Regions from separate parts of the Homo sapiens genome. Here regions 2 and 3 are each linked to region 1. The links are contacts of gene promoters, found by promoter capture Hi-C in blood cells and fetal thymus (Javierre and others, 2016). All regions are on one chromosome and are shown on one strand. The core of a region is centred on a gene start or on the middle of the fragment in contact, and the rest is flanking DNA. Distances in the headings are between cores, read along the strand shown. Region 1 holds the start of APOBEC2 (apolipoprotein B mRNA editing enzyme catalytic subunit 2). Region 2 overlaps KIF6 (kinesin family member 6). Region 3 holds the start of MOCS1 (molybdenum cofactor synthesis 1).

Evidence for each region. The method cuts DNA at HindIII sites, captures the fragments that hold promoters and counts their contacts. A CHiCAGO score of 5 or more calls a contact.
Region 2: a fragment that was not itself captured here is called in contact with the fragment with the promoter of APOBEC2 in region 1 in 4 of 17 cell types (total B cells, naive B cells, M1 macrophages and 1 more); the score reaches 8.2 in total B cells.
Region 3: the fragment with the promoter of MOCS1 here is called in contact with the fragment with the promoter of APOBEC2 in region 1 in 1 of 17 cell types (endothelial precursors); the score reaches 5.1 in endothelial precursors.

Annotation. Positions count from the first base shown.
Region 1 is chr6:41,050,925-41,055,530 of GRCh38, forward strand. It overlaps APOBEC2 (apolipoprotein B mRNA editing enzyme catalytic subunit 2), which reads left to right and starts at 2,278. Exons shown (of 3, transcript NM_006789.4): 1 at 2,278-2,554. The coding sequence starts at 2,424. The HindIII fragment of the contact is 6,727 bases long and covers 1-2,864 here.
Region 2 is chr6:39,338,674-39,343,279 of GRCh38, forward strand. The region is part of intron 22 of KIF6 (kinesin family member 6); the gene reads right to left. LOC105375047 (a long non-coding RNA gene) reads left to right here. Exons shown (of 3, transcript XR_926774.3): 2 at 1-5; 3 at 3,966-4,028. Among named protein-coding and RNA genes, the nearest start is that of KCNK16, 18 kb to the left of the region's middle. RefSeq lists an enhancer at 846-1,347. The HindIII fragment of the contact is 1,310 bases long and covers 2,142-3,451 here.
Region 3 is chr6:39,931,969-39,936,574 of GRCh38, forward strand. It overlaps MOCS1 (molybdenum cofactor synthesis 1), which reads right to left and starts at 2,494. Exons shown (of 11, transcript NM_001358530.2): 1 at 2,327-2,494. The coding sequence starts at 2,449. LOC102723789 (a long non-coding RNA gene) reads left to right here and starts at 2,601. Exons shown (of 6, transcript XR_001744112.1): 1 at 2,601-2,675. The HindIII fragment of the contact is 5,632 bases long and covers 822-4,606 here.

The sequences.
Region 1 (4,606 bases), core at 1,028-3,527:
CCCGAAAAATGTTTGAAAAAATAAGATCCAGATAAAAATGCTTTCAGTGGCTGGGCGCGGTGGCTCATGCCACCCAGCATTTTGGGAGGCCAAGGCAGGCGGATCACGAGGTCAGGAGATGGAGACCATCCTGGCCACATGGTGAAACCCTGTCTCTACTAAAATTACAAAAATTAGCTGGGCCTGGTGGCACATGCCAGTAGTCCCAGCTACTTTGGAGGCTGAGGCAGGAGAATCGGTTGAACTCGGGAGGCGGAGGTTGCAGTGAGCCAAGATCGTGCCACTGCACTCCAGTCTGGTGACAGAGTGAGACTCCATCTCAAAAAATAAATAATAATAATCCTTTTAGTAGTAAATCCAAAAGGTAGGGGACCATATAATTTATTGTCCACAGCGGGACACCTTTGGGAGTAAAGGGGTGCTATTAGTAATTATGTCTGGACAACAGGAAGAAACCATGACTGGCAAACCAAAATGCTGGGCATCACACTAACAGAGCACTCTGCTGCTCAGACTCTCTGGAGGAGTGAGCCCTAAATCTTCCAAACCATCTTGACTCCTCTTCTTTAGTCAGACCCTCCAAAGGGTGCCCTACCCTCTCATCCCCACCAGCCAAACCCATTTGGAGCTGTTTTCAGATCCGTTCCCCAGTGTTCTTAGGTTCCTCATTTTCAACCTACAAGTGACCCTGACCCCTTCCTTCTGCTTCCCTGAGAATGGCCTAGAGTGTTTGCACTGCTCCAAACACGAAGACTTTTGCCTCTGCTAAGTACCCATCATGAGAGCTGCAAAAATCATCTAGCCATCCTCTGCTGCTGTTCCGGCTCAGGGTCTTTTCTATGGGCCCCCATCATCTCTCTCTGGCCTCAGTAGGCTTCTCACTGGTCCCCTGCCTCTGCTCTTCCCAAGTGCTCAGACCACCTGTCTCACCTGTTCAGAGACAATGGCTTCCCACCTCAGTCTGAGAAAAAGCAAGGTACTTATGACAGCCCATAAGGCCCCAGTCCCTTTTACCCTTGTTATCTCTCTGGCTTAATCTCTTAGAACTCTTCAGTCACCCAGATGTATGTCCTCGCTAGTTCCTCAAACACCCCAGGAATGCTCCCTTCTCAGAGCCTTTGCTCACGTTGTTCCCTTCCTTGGAACGCTTTCCTCTTAGACAACCAAATGATTAGTTCCCTTGCCTTCTTCACGTCTTCTTCAATTGTCTCCTTTTCAAAGTCCTTCACCCTGGCCATCCTATAAGTACGTAACCCCACCTCTTAGCACTTCCTGTTTCCATTTCCTGTCTTTTCTCCTTGGCACTTGTCATCACAAAATAGACCATGTATTTTACTTACCTTATTTGTTGTTCAGTTCCTCAAGCTCCACAAATCATCACAGCAGGGATTTTCATTTGCTTTGTTCTTTTGCCATATTCCCAGTACCTGAAACAGCACCTGGCATAGAGTAGATACTCAATAAATATTTGTTAAGAAGAATAAAAGACTGACTGTGAGGGCACATAGCATGGAGGTTGAATATTTGGCCTGAAGTACAAAAGCCTGCATTTTAATCCCGGCTCTGCACACTTCTGTGACTCAGTTTACCTGTAACTTGGGATAATACACATCGCCTCCCATGGCTGTGGCAAGCATGCATCTGATTTCATTTAAACCCCTAAACCCACTGCCTGGCCTGTTTCAAAATCTCTGAGCTAAGTAAATGGCAGCTATTGTTACTCAGGGAGGCTCCTGATCGATTTGACATTACATTATGGCTTTGTAACAGGCAAATCAGCACCCACCGCTTTTGAGTCATAACTCACACACTTACTCCCCAAATTGTCAGTTTTGATCCCACCTCTGCCAGGACCCCTCCTTTCCTGAACCCACGTTCCCCCAAAGCAAATGGCCTGGGTCTTTTTGCAGTCAGCCCCTTTCAACACACATCTCCTCCTGTTTAAATCTCAGAAGGCCACCCTCCTAAATCTCAGGATGCCTGCCCTGGGGCCCCTTCCACACTCTCCCCCAGTGGAGCTAGGGAATTTGGGTGGGAAACAAAGGGGAGAACATAAGGTGAGCTGAGAGGGAGAGGGAGAAGAGAGCAGGCCAAGCCATACCCACCTGCCAGGTTCCTGTCTTTGCCTACTGATAAATAGGGGATACTAATGGCCAGATTTTCCATTCCCCCACCCCAGCACCCGCTGTCACTCAATTAAAAAAAGATAGAGGGAGAGAGCCTGGGGGAGGGGCAGGAGGCCTTGGCTATAAAGCCTGTGGCTAAGTGGGGAAAGCACGAAGCCTGGCCTGCTGGGTCCTTTTCCCGTCATCCCCAGCCAGATTTAGCTGCTGACAGCTGCTTGGGACTCTGCCGCCAGGGCCTGGCCCAGACCTGCCTGCCTCTCTCCTCTCCCTCAGTGACTCCTGAGCCACAGCCCCTCCATGGCCCAGAAGGAAGAGGCTGCTGTGGCCACTGAGGCTGCCTCCCAGAATGGGGAGGATCTGGAGAACCTGGACGACCCTGAGAAGCTGAAAGAGCTGATTGAGCTGCCGCCCTTTGAGATTGTCACAGGGTAAGCCTCAGATGTGGGTCAGGGTTCTGCTCCCTAGAAGAGTGCAGCCTTGGGTTAGGCTGTGGAAATTCAGGATGGTTATATTAGGCGTCAGGGACAGCTACAACCCTGCAGCAGTGAGAGTGCACCAGTGGGCCCGGCAGGGGTGGTAGGGGACCCAGCAGCAAATTCTCTTGGCTTCTCAGGGTGACACCTTGGGCTCTCTAATCAGGGAGAGGTAGGAGGAGCTCCTTGGAGGCAAAAGCCCAGAGAATAAAACCACCCTTCAGGCCTCCTGGTATTGGGATGGCCACCTGCCTCTCTGGGTAGAAGCTTAGTCCCAGGGAGTTTGGCGAGGACAGAGGATGAGACTGGCACATCTATATGTGGCTCCGTTCAAAGCAACCCTTCCCCTCAACTTCTCTGTTCCTGAGTGGGTCTCTCCGCTAGCCATAGGCCTCTAGCCCTTTCTTTAGAGCTTCTTCCTGGAGTAGATGCTCCCAAGACAGGAAAGATAGATCCATCCTTTCCCAAGACTCAGAAGCAGCTTTTTTCTTATTAAATCTTTTGAGTCTCCTCAGGGGCTGTCCCACAGAGAAACAGAGAAATTACATGCAGATAACGCAGCCCAGGAGCTTATGGACACAGGAGCTGTTCCAACATGCTCAGGCATTGCCTGGAGGAACTGGGACCCAAAGAAAAGGGTCTACAGACTGCAAGGAGGGGGCTGTGTGCAGGGTACCTCTGTCTTATCCAGATTATGCCATCTCCAGGAATAAAACTAAGTAGTCTTCTTCCTCTTCCCTTTCTATTCCTGTAGTGGAAGACCCTTCTAAATCCTGAGCAAAGAATAAAAAGAGAATCTATGAGGCCATATTTCCTCCTTGAACCAAACGTTCCCTTCATGGGGTCTCCAGGAATGACCACAGGCAGAGTGGGTGCGAGACTAAGAGAAGTTTCAGGAAGAAAGGAGGCATGATGCTTTCAAGGGGGAAAGGAAGCCCTGAGTGGCAATTTGGACTTGATATTTCAAGCTTGACAAGTGATTTTCCAGTCAGCCACAGTTTTAGCACTTATAACATGAAGATCTATAGTAGTAAGGTCCCTTCCAGCTCAGATGTTTTCTGATTTTCAAGAGAACCTAAGGGAAAATGCATCCTATTTCCTGAGGCAAGAGTAGCCCCTGAATTTCCATTTGCCCATGCCCACCCAACTAATCTCACCCTCATCCTAGGATTAAGGGAGCAGCTGGGCACAGATTAATATAGACACAGGGAAAGCCTAAGGCAGCCTGGCCAGGAGAGTCCTCAATTCCAGTGGCTTTCTTATGGAAGGAGAGCCTTTTTCTAACACCTAAGCATGCTGGTATACGCTATCCTTAGTCATACACACACGCGTGTGCACACTACACTCTTGTGTGGCTTTCCAACACAGAGGGAGGGTAGGTCAAGAACAGAATTAGACTATGTTTGTTCAGCTGAACATGCTTTGGGGGTCCCAGAGCAATGGATCCTGAAGGGTTAAGTCCACTGATATAACTTACATTTGTCCAGGGCTTTATAATCACAACATAGTTTCATGAACATGAGACCATTCAACACTCAGCACAAAGGTAGGAGAGGGAGATATATTATTGCCACTTTACAGAGGGGGAAACTGAGACTCAGAGAGATTGAATGGTATGTCCAAAACCACAGAACTGGTAGGTGGCACATCTTCTTACTCCCAGCAAAGTATCCTTTCTACTGGTTTCTTATTCATTCTGGATCCCAGGTTTCCCAGAGCTCCACGTTATCTCTATCTGGGAGGTAGTGAGGACCCAAGGCTCAGAAAAAGGGGCACAGAAGGGGCAACGTTCTGAGCATTCTGTGAACAGTTCAGGTGGGAGCAGAGCGCTGAGTGTTTCCTGGCCACAAGTAACAGCTGTAGAGAGCTGTCTCCTGGGCCCCTCTGGGTAAACAGATGGCTTAAAATAGCCCAGAGGTGCAGCTGGGTCTGTGCAGGGAGAGGGTGAGGGAATAGCTTTCCTCTCCTTCCCTCTTGAGATGCATTCCCCCCAGGACTCCCTCCTGG
Region 2 (4,606 bases), core at 1,547-4,046, 1.7 Mb before region 1:
CTGGGGTGGGTCCAGGTGATTCTGAGGCATGGCCATGGCTGAAACTCACTGCTTTTGTCTCTCTAGTACAAGGACTGGCAGGGCAAGAGCTGGGGGCCCGTGGGCACGTGGCTGCTGATGAGATCTGGGCTCTGATGTTTCTGCTGCACTGTTGAAATGCAGCCTGGGCCAGGATTGTGAACGCTGCCGGTGGTAGGGAGCATGGAGTCTGAGCCATCTCCCACCCAGGATGGTCTCTGAGCCCCTCACACACTTGCATGCAGTAATGACAGGGGGTGGGTGGGGTGGGGCCTGGGAAGAAATGCTACAGAATAGGGGGGAGAGCACGCTCTGCCCCAAGACATAGCTCCTTACATGCACAGACCTCAACACAAAAGGCACCATTTCAAACTCATTCACTTTATGGGCCCCAGTTAAGTGATGAAGCTCTGTCTGTATTGGGGTTTTGATTACCGTGGGCTCCCAGAAAGGAGGGCACACTACAGATGTACCATTAAGAAAAAGCAAAATCACACCTCATGGTGTTGGGCCAGCTCTCACCACAGAGGCCACTTCCCTGTTAATAATTCCTTGGTGCTTGGGAGTTGATAAGGGACTTTAATGGAGATTATCTGGGAAAGGATCAGAGCCTGGGCAAGGGTGGAATCTGTACATGACAGACAGTGAGAGGGAGGCTTGGGGAGGTGACCTGCCCAGTGTCACGCAGAGCAGAGATGGCCTTGGAATTTCCGCCTTTTCCCTCCCAGCTCGGGGCTCTTTCTCTTTCCCTGGGAGGGTTTCTGAACACAGAAGAGAGCTGGAGGGTTTCTCTGAGTGGGGCTGGAGGGCTGGGAGAGGCAGGACCTCTTCCTAACACCTCTTGGAGAAGACAGACTTGTGGTTATGGGGGTCGCACCATGGTTCCTTTCCAGATGGGAATACTTCCAAACTCAGGGATTAAGCAAGATTAAAAACAAAAAGGCCCTCTAGAAAGGGGTTAACCTCATTTCCTCAGACATAAAAACTGTCCTTGGCAGTTGGAAACAGCAGAGTTGACTCCACGGATGACTGATGCCCCTTACGGGTGTTATATACCTGTCCACGCCTGCCCCTGGCAGGGATTTAAACATTCCATGCTGTTCCATGAATCCTAAATCAAATAGATTCATCCTGGCCCTTGGTGAAGCCTAAGAGCTGGCGAGGCTTATGTTAAATTGCCCTCTCTGGGCTCCTGCTCCTGAGCTGACAGTCACAAATTCCCCTTAATGAGCACTCCTGAAGTAACCAAGGCAGCGCTGTGAGCTAAATTAAGATTCGAGAGCCCAGGCAGGGAGAGGGAGGTGTTTGCTTTGGCTGAGAAGGTGCCTGGGCCCCGGCCTGTGTGTTTGCCTGGGTGCCCTGATAAGTGGGCTGCATATTAAGTGCCACATGGTGGGACCAGAACCATCTGCTGTATGTCTGAGAGGTCACGCCTGCTGGCCCTTTGGGACCTGGTGGCAGAGGGACCCCGTGTCAACCTGTCTTTGGCTTCCTTTGTGGCCCCGTGGTCACTGAAAAGCCAGAATGAATATTCTTCCTTTCGGAATAAAAATTGAGCTGTGGAAGTTTTGTTTGCTTTGATGAATTACTTCCAGGCTGCTGTTTATTTGGAGAGCAAAGCTCCCCAGCTGCAGGGTGGGTAGAGGCTGCGGTCACTCCCCTCGTCAATGCTGGTTCCTGTTCCTGAGGCCGAGAGAACTCCTGACAGCAGAGTGGGCATATCTTGGTAGTTGCAGCTTTTCAAGACAGTGTGGCCCAGTGGGGAGAGAGCAGAAAACCTGGGTTATGCTGGCTCTGCCATTTATCAGCTGTGTAACCTTGGGCAAGTGATACAACCTCTGTGTGCCTCAGTTTCCTTTCCTCACCTGTCCACAGGGGATCATAATCTTGGCCCTGCATGCCTTACAGGAGCGTTAAGAGCATCAAATGAAACAATAAAAATGAAAACATTTATAAATGGTAGTTTGCCATACATATTTTAATAAAAGTGCCTGCCCTTCAATCCAGCTCTCTGCACTGCCTGGGGACAGTGTTAGCAGGAGGACACCACTCTGACAGGGACCTGGACTTCCGCCTCTTCTGTTTGGAGAGAGTTAGATGATCACATCTCTTATATGTACAAAAGCTTAGTGAATGTAACTTAAAGATATTGCTTGCTTGTAGGCTTCTTGAGGGGAGGAATGATGGTTGGTTTCTATGGATTTGTTACAGGGGAAGGGATATCTCAGCTCAAAGGATATCCTGCGTATCCAAGCCTTCCTCCACTTGTGCCCCACACACTGTCCCCTCTACTTTCTCAAGGAAGTTTTTCCTGCAGCTCTGCTCCCCTCTCCCACCACAGCATCAGTTTCCCTCTCTATGCATGTTTCAGCACGTGAGCATGTCTTAAAGCATCCCTCTGGGCTCCTGCTTCCCTTTAGCTCCAGCCCAGTTCTCTGCTCCTGTCACTGCTCAACCCCCTGGAGGGGTTGTATCTGCTCACTGCCTCAGCCTCTTTCCCTTCCACCCTCTCCCCAGCCACTCCCAGTCCCCTGGCTAAATGGTGCTTGTCCATGATCACCCTGACATGCAAAATGGCCAGTGGTCCACATTCCATCCTGCCACACTCTACTGGCCCGTCTCCCCTTGGAGCTTGTGCTTCTCCAGCTTGTGCTTCTCCAGCTTGTGCCTGAGGCCATACCCACTTATCTGCTGTTCCTTTTCGCACCCTGGCAGTGCCTTCTCAGCATCTCTGCTTCCTCTCTCTCCGCAACTGTTGGAGAACCCCAGGGGGCTGTTCTCAGCAATTTGAATACCTCCATCTCTGGTCTTCAGAGGACATTGTACTCAGTCCTGTGGCTTCAGACACCAACCAGACATGATGACTTGCATATTTCTTTTTCTAGCTTAGACTTTCTCTCTGAGCTCCACTGATGCTCACCTGTCTACTCGACACCTCCTCTTGGACATCAAATGTCATCTGAAACTTCAAAAAGGGCAGCCAGAACTCTCCATCCCTCCAGCTCCTTGCCTCTGATGGTCATGCCTCCCTGCCTTTCTCATTTCAGTAAATGGCACTGCCATTCTCTTCGCTGCTCAGATCAAAAGCCCAGGAGGTGCCCTGACTCTCCTCTTTCTCTTGCATCTCATATTTGGTCTACTGGTGAGTCCAAGCCACAATCATCCCTTGCTGGCACTTTCATGGTAGCCTGGTAACTGGTCTACCCTTGGCCCCTACAATCTACACTACATGTGACAGACAAAGTGAGCTTTTTAAAGCATCAATCACATCATATCACTCCATGGTTAAAATTATTCAGTGGGCTTCCACTCTATCCAGAATAAAATCCAAATCTCTTTCCCCTGTGCATAAGGCTGGTGTGACTTGGCCCTTGTGCTCTTGCTCCCTGCCCTCCAGCCACTCTAGCTTCCTTCCCACCCTGTGGCCAAGCAAAGCTTCCCCTTCAGGCTTCTCGCTTTCCGCTCTGTCTGCTAGGACTGTGCATTCCCAGAACGCGGCGTAGCTGCTCCATTCTCATGATGCAGCTGTCAGTTTAAAGTTATCTTCTCCAGCAAGGCCTCCCCAACCTACCCAGCTAAAAGCAGTCTTCCCAGTTACTGTCTACAACATTACATAGTTTAGCTATTTCATAGCACTTATTATCCCCTCAAACAATCTTACGTATTTGTCGACGTGTTCATTGTCTGTCTCCTTCCTCCCCCTAGAATGTCAGTTTCTCACGTGCTGGGTTCTGTCTTGTTCTCTGCTGTAGCACCAGCACTAGTAGTAGTGCCTGGCATAAGAAGGCACCCAACATATACAGTGTTTGCTGACTGATTGGCTGTTCATTGCTGTTCAGTGCCTGATACCTATCATCAGAGTATTTGGGGCATAGATGGGGACTTGGAGATCACTGAATCCAGTTTTTTATTTTTTTTTATTTTTTTTTATTTTTTTTTATTTTTAGACAAGGAAACTGAGAATGAGACAAGATCACAGCAGAGGTGGGGCTGTCTCAGGCTTAAGAAAGGACCTGACAGTGTTGCTGAGGCTGCTGGTCCTGGTGGTGAAGAGAGGATAGTAAATAAGCAGGCTGGCGGCCAAGCAAGGCGAGTACAGGACCAAGGCCGGCTCTCAGTTGCGGCGCTCCATCCATGCACAAACCTCTTCCTGCCCAAACTGCACACGGCTGGTGGAGAAGCTGAGTGCAGGCGCCACAGGGCAGGCATCAGTCATTATACATCGAATCTGCCAGCCCATACCATCACGGTGGGGGCGCCTTTCTGGCAATGTGAAGGCAATGTTAAGCCTGCCTAGTAGCCTTTGGGTTATGGGGAGGAGGCTAAGACAAAATGCAGGCCTGGGGTAAGGGGCCCTGGGGCTTGCCCTGTGGGTGTGTTGGGGATGGAAGGCAGAAAGAGAAAAGGCCCAGCCACAGCAGATGGGAGATGGGCAGCTGCCAAGAGGACGGGGCTGGGGGTGGAGGGGGCAGTGATGCAGACCAAGAAGAGCCTTCTTCTCTTCCTGTTGTCTGACACGCCACTCTTACTTCCTCTGTGATTGTTATGGTGTCCTCGGGCCTGGGCCTTCAAGCAGTGTTTACACTCA
Region 3 (4,606 bases), core at 1,244-3,743, 1.1 Mb before region 1:
CCCACCTCCCCATTGACCCACACACTACTCCTTTCCATAGCTAGAAGCTACTCGACCTGTTCTTGGACTCAGCCCACAGCCCCCTTTCCGCAATCCTCACAGCCAGCTCCCACTTAACCTCACTTCTCTCCCTCACACCCTCATCCTGCCACACAAACAATGCCCAGTGGCTTTCCATCCTAGCTCTCCAAGCACCTCCCATCCCAAACCAGACTACCAGAGCCCTGTGTGGGCGTGTTGGGGGAGACAGACCCTGCAAGAAGGGGTTCAAGGTGTCCCCACCCCAACTGGCAAGCTCTGGAGATGAGCAGAACATATCCATTTCCAGACTCACCTCCCCTTAGAGTCTCCTCAAGACAAGTTTCTGTGCCCTCCCCCATCTTATGATGGGCTGGCCCAGTCCTCTCATTTTATAAACATGAAGCAAAGGGAAGTGACAGCCCCAGGAGCCAGGTGAAATTGGAGGCGAAACTGGCGGGTGAAAACATGGGACTCCCTGTCCAGTGTGGTCTACTATGCCACGTGACTCCTCACTAGTTAAGTTTCAAGCAGCTACAATTATTGGCTGAATCCACTGCCTGCACAACCCTGCGTTAAGCGCTTGTGGGGATAGAAAGGCGGAGGTGCACCCAGCCCTCAGGAACTCCCAGTCTGCTGAAGATAATCCTAATGAGATGTCCAGGATTCAATGTGAGTTGACAGAATAGCTATCCAACAAGTCCAGATGGGAGGGGACTCACAGGACAGAGCATGTGCCAGTGGCAGCATGGATAATAGTAATTACCACCAACATTTACATAACACAGCACTTACATGGGCTAAGCTTTGTTCTAAGTATATACGTTAACATACGTTAACTCTTTTAATCCCTGTGACATCCTATGAAGTAGACACTTTTATTCTTACTTTGCAGATGAGAAAACAGACACTGAGAGGTAAGGGGACTTGGTGAATCCCTAATAAGGGATGGGGCTGCCCCAGAGTCTATGTTCTCCTTTCTGCCACATTACCCCTCCCTTCACAGTGTAAAGGGATGGATAGGAGCAGGCTCTCTCCCTGGCCTCCACACAGGGAGGACGGAAAAGCATTAGAGTTGAGTTCCTGCCCTCTACAGCTCTGCGACTGGAGGAAAGTTAACTTAGATTAGCCCCCTCATCTGAACATACAAACTCTACTCACCTCACATGGCTTAGTGAGGACTAAATGCTTCCACATGTGAGTCACTCAACACAGGTTCTCTCATGAAAGACCAGTACAAAATAAACTAGGGGGTGGGGGGCTGGAGAAGAAAAGTCCCTTTTCTTGAATTCTTTAAAGATCTCTCAGCCATCTTTGCTTTCCTATCTCTTCCTCAATGATGTTCAGAGTTTGAGGATACTAAAAAGTCTTCACTTCCCAACCATGGGCCTGCTTATCTGAGGATCCCAGAGGGGCTTAGATTTGGGGAAAGCAAATTTGGCGGAAGTCATTGAGCAATATAGGGGAGGAGGGAGCAGTGATCTTATGAATCCCAGGACAGGAAGCCTAGTTCTGGGAGACGGGGAAAAAAACGCCTAGATAGGTACCGAAAAGAGGTTTCACTAAATGAAAAGAGGTACTTTTCCCCCCAAATTATTCCCTAACCACCTGAGCAGAAGAACAACCAAAACCTAAAACTTTTAATGACTTGAAACACTCTGAGGGGTGCTGGCAAGGACTGAGGGATCTTACCCAAAACCCTAAAGACAGAGGAATTAATTTCTCACCTGGAAGAAGCCACGTCCTGCCCTGTTCTGCTCTAGGATAAGGCTGAACCCTCCCAAGGTTAATAAAAAAGACAAGGAGAGTCAGCAAAGGATGGGTTACAGAGCCCTGGGACTACAGTAACAACTCATCGTTGGTGACACCGAGGTGACATGTTTAGTCAGTCGCACTATGAAGCAGGTGTCACAGGGACACCTGATCTCTCAGCTCTTGGGATAGGGAGGGAAAATGTTTAAGAAAGAGGGTGGGTGCAAGGCAAGGCTGAAAGGTACTAAGACACCTCACTGGACCCAAAGTCCCAGTCCTCTGCTTACCCGAATTTCTGGCCAAGCTCAGGGCTAGAAGGGGTGGCGTGGCTGGGGGGCAGGGAGGTTCTGAAGCGGGACTCCCAGGAACCTCTCCCGCTGGGCTAGCGGGTGAGACCGGGCGGTCCATCTGGAGAACATCGCTCCACTGAGGAGTGCCAACGGGTCCCTCCCAGAAGCGGTCAAGCAGATAGGCCGGGAGCTACTGGGGGAAAAGGGCAGTGTGCCGGGGCCACTCCTGCCCCGGGAAGCTGTGGACGCAGGCGGGGTGGGCTCACCTCCGAGGCAGCTCGCGCGGACTCCCCGGGGCAGGGCTGGGTCACCGGAGCCCCTGAGCTGCAGCTCCGGGCGCTGGACCTCAGAAGCCGCCGCAGCATCCGGGACAGTGGCCGCGCCGCCATGAAGCCTGATACGAGCGGAACCGCAGCCCGCTTCGGGAGCACACTGGCCGGGCACTCGCCCCCGGGGTCATCCCAGCAAGGGCGGGGAGGGGCAGGGGGAGGGCGGGACCCGCGCAGCCAATAGGCGAGGACGCAGTCCCGCGTGGCCTTGTGGGAGCTGTAGTACGCTCCCTGTGCCCACTTTCCTGGGCCGGGGTAGCGCTCTAGGGCAGAAGGGTAAACTCAGGTAAGGAACGGGGTTCTTTTCCTTCCAGTTTTTCTGGCTGCTCTAGTCTCAGATTTAGGTCGTGGTGTGACAGTAGGCAGGACAGGACAAGGGCCAAACGAATGAGGCACTGCCTTGGATGCAAAATTTAAGAGGGTGCCAGGTAAACTGCGGTTATCAAAGTAAGTAATTTTTTAATGTAATATTTCAAAAAATCGTAATAAATTTTCAGAAGTCCGTGAAATATCAACATTCTAAATAAAAAGATTTAGCCTACACTTGCATGACTCACATCACTCAGTGCACCATAGTGCAGATTGTGGTTGTAAAACGGTCAGTTAGGTCTTTCAAGATACACTTCTCCAGTTGTGCCCCAAAAGGATATTAACAATCTTTTTTTTTTTTTTTTTTTTCGTGGAGAAGGCAAGAGTATATGAGAAGTCACAGAATGAGTGGACAACATTTTTGAAATGCTTCTTATACACCAAGCACCATGCTAAATGTTATTTAAAACAATCCTGGTATGAATAGAATGTCCTTTTTGCAACTGAGGACATTGAGGCTTAGAGAGACCAGGTAATTTTCTCGAAGTCACACAGCTGATAGTGGGTTTCAAACCCAGGGCAATCTGCTTTCTACAGTCATTCAGTCAAGATTCAGTATGTGTTAGGAATGGTGGGGTGTGCCTCTTCCTCTCTATAAAAAGCAGAGTGCTGTAGTCCTTTAAGATTTTGGATAACACACACAATAATGAGCTTATGTACTAAGAATAATTATGCTCAAACCAGCCTGTTGTATCCAAAACCCTGTCCCTGTGGAATTGCAAGAATAAAACACCGGCTGGAACATACAGCTGCCAAGTGCATGCTTAGGAAGTGGGAATATAGCTCCTGATCTTGAAGAATTGACCGAATAGTGGGAGAGGAAAAAATAACTGAATATAACTGACTTTTACAAGTGCAGTGGGACTGTCAGAAAAGCTGAGATGATTTTAGCCTTAGATTCAATGTGAATTTCTCACAATGATACTCAAAATTCAGAAAATATATTGTAGGGGATGAAAGTGTATCTGGGGTGTGTTTGAAACTGATGAGACAAGTATGCCAGAGGTCTGTTTGCAAGGGGCCTGAAGACCAACTGAGGACTGTTCAAGCTCTGTCCACTGCTAAGTTTAGATATGTCTGGATTTATCAGGAAAACTGGGTATGGGGGAGAGAAGGATAAAAACTTTTTTTTTTTTTGTATGTATGAGGCTTGAAGAGCCTTCTAGAGAGGACTCAACCTCAGGGAAGAAGCCATCTGACATATGAACTTGATCCAAGAATGTCACCAGCTCCTTGGAGCCTCTCTAGATTCCACCCTCTTCATACAAGTTGTATGTGATCATCCCTTCACTTGGGCTTTACTGTCATCTTTTATAGAACTTGGGTCTCCAAGGCAAGACCTAAGGCTTACTCAGTTCTGTTTGAAGGCTGAAATCCTCTCCATATTATCATACATCTACTTGGACTCCTGTAGTGCTGGGAAACTTTCTGGCTTCCTGATGTTGTCTGGTCCACTTAAATGTTTCCCCACCTATTAAAGTTCTTACTTGTATTCAGCAAAAAAGTGCCCCTTTCTGTCAACATATGGTGATTAAGTGTCATCAGGGCCGAATCCTCTGCTAATGGCTGGGAATAAGGAAATACTTTCAAGGGCTCACAGCCTGCAGTAGGGCTCTGATGTGACAAGTCCATGGATTGATTTGGAGGGTTCTGTAGACCCCTGAACTTGAATGCATAATACTGTATTTTTTTTTCCTGGGGAATGGTGGCTTTTTGTCACATGCTCAAAGAGCCTCATGGAACATACTGTCCTAGAAATCTCTCTTTTGTGATACCCTCCTATTGGCCCTAGTTTTAGCCCCCTAGGCATATACATCCTCTCTTTGAGACTTTAACCCAAGTACTCTC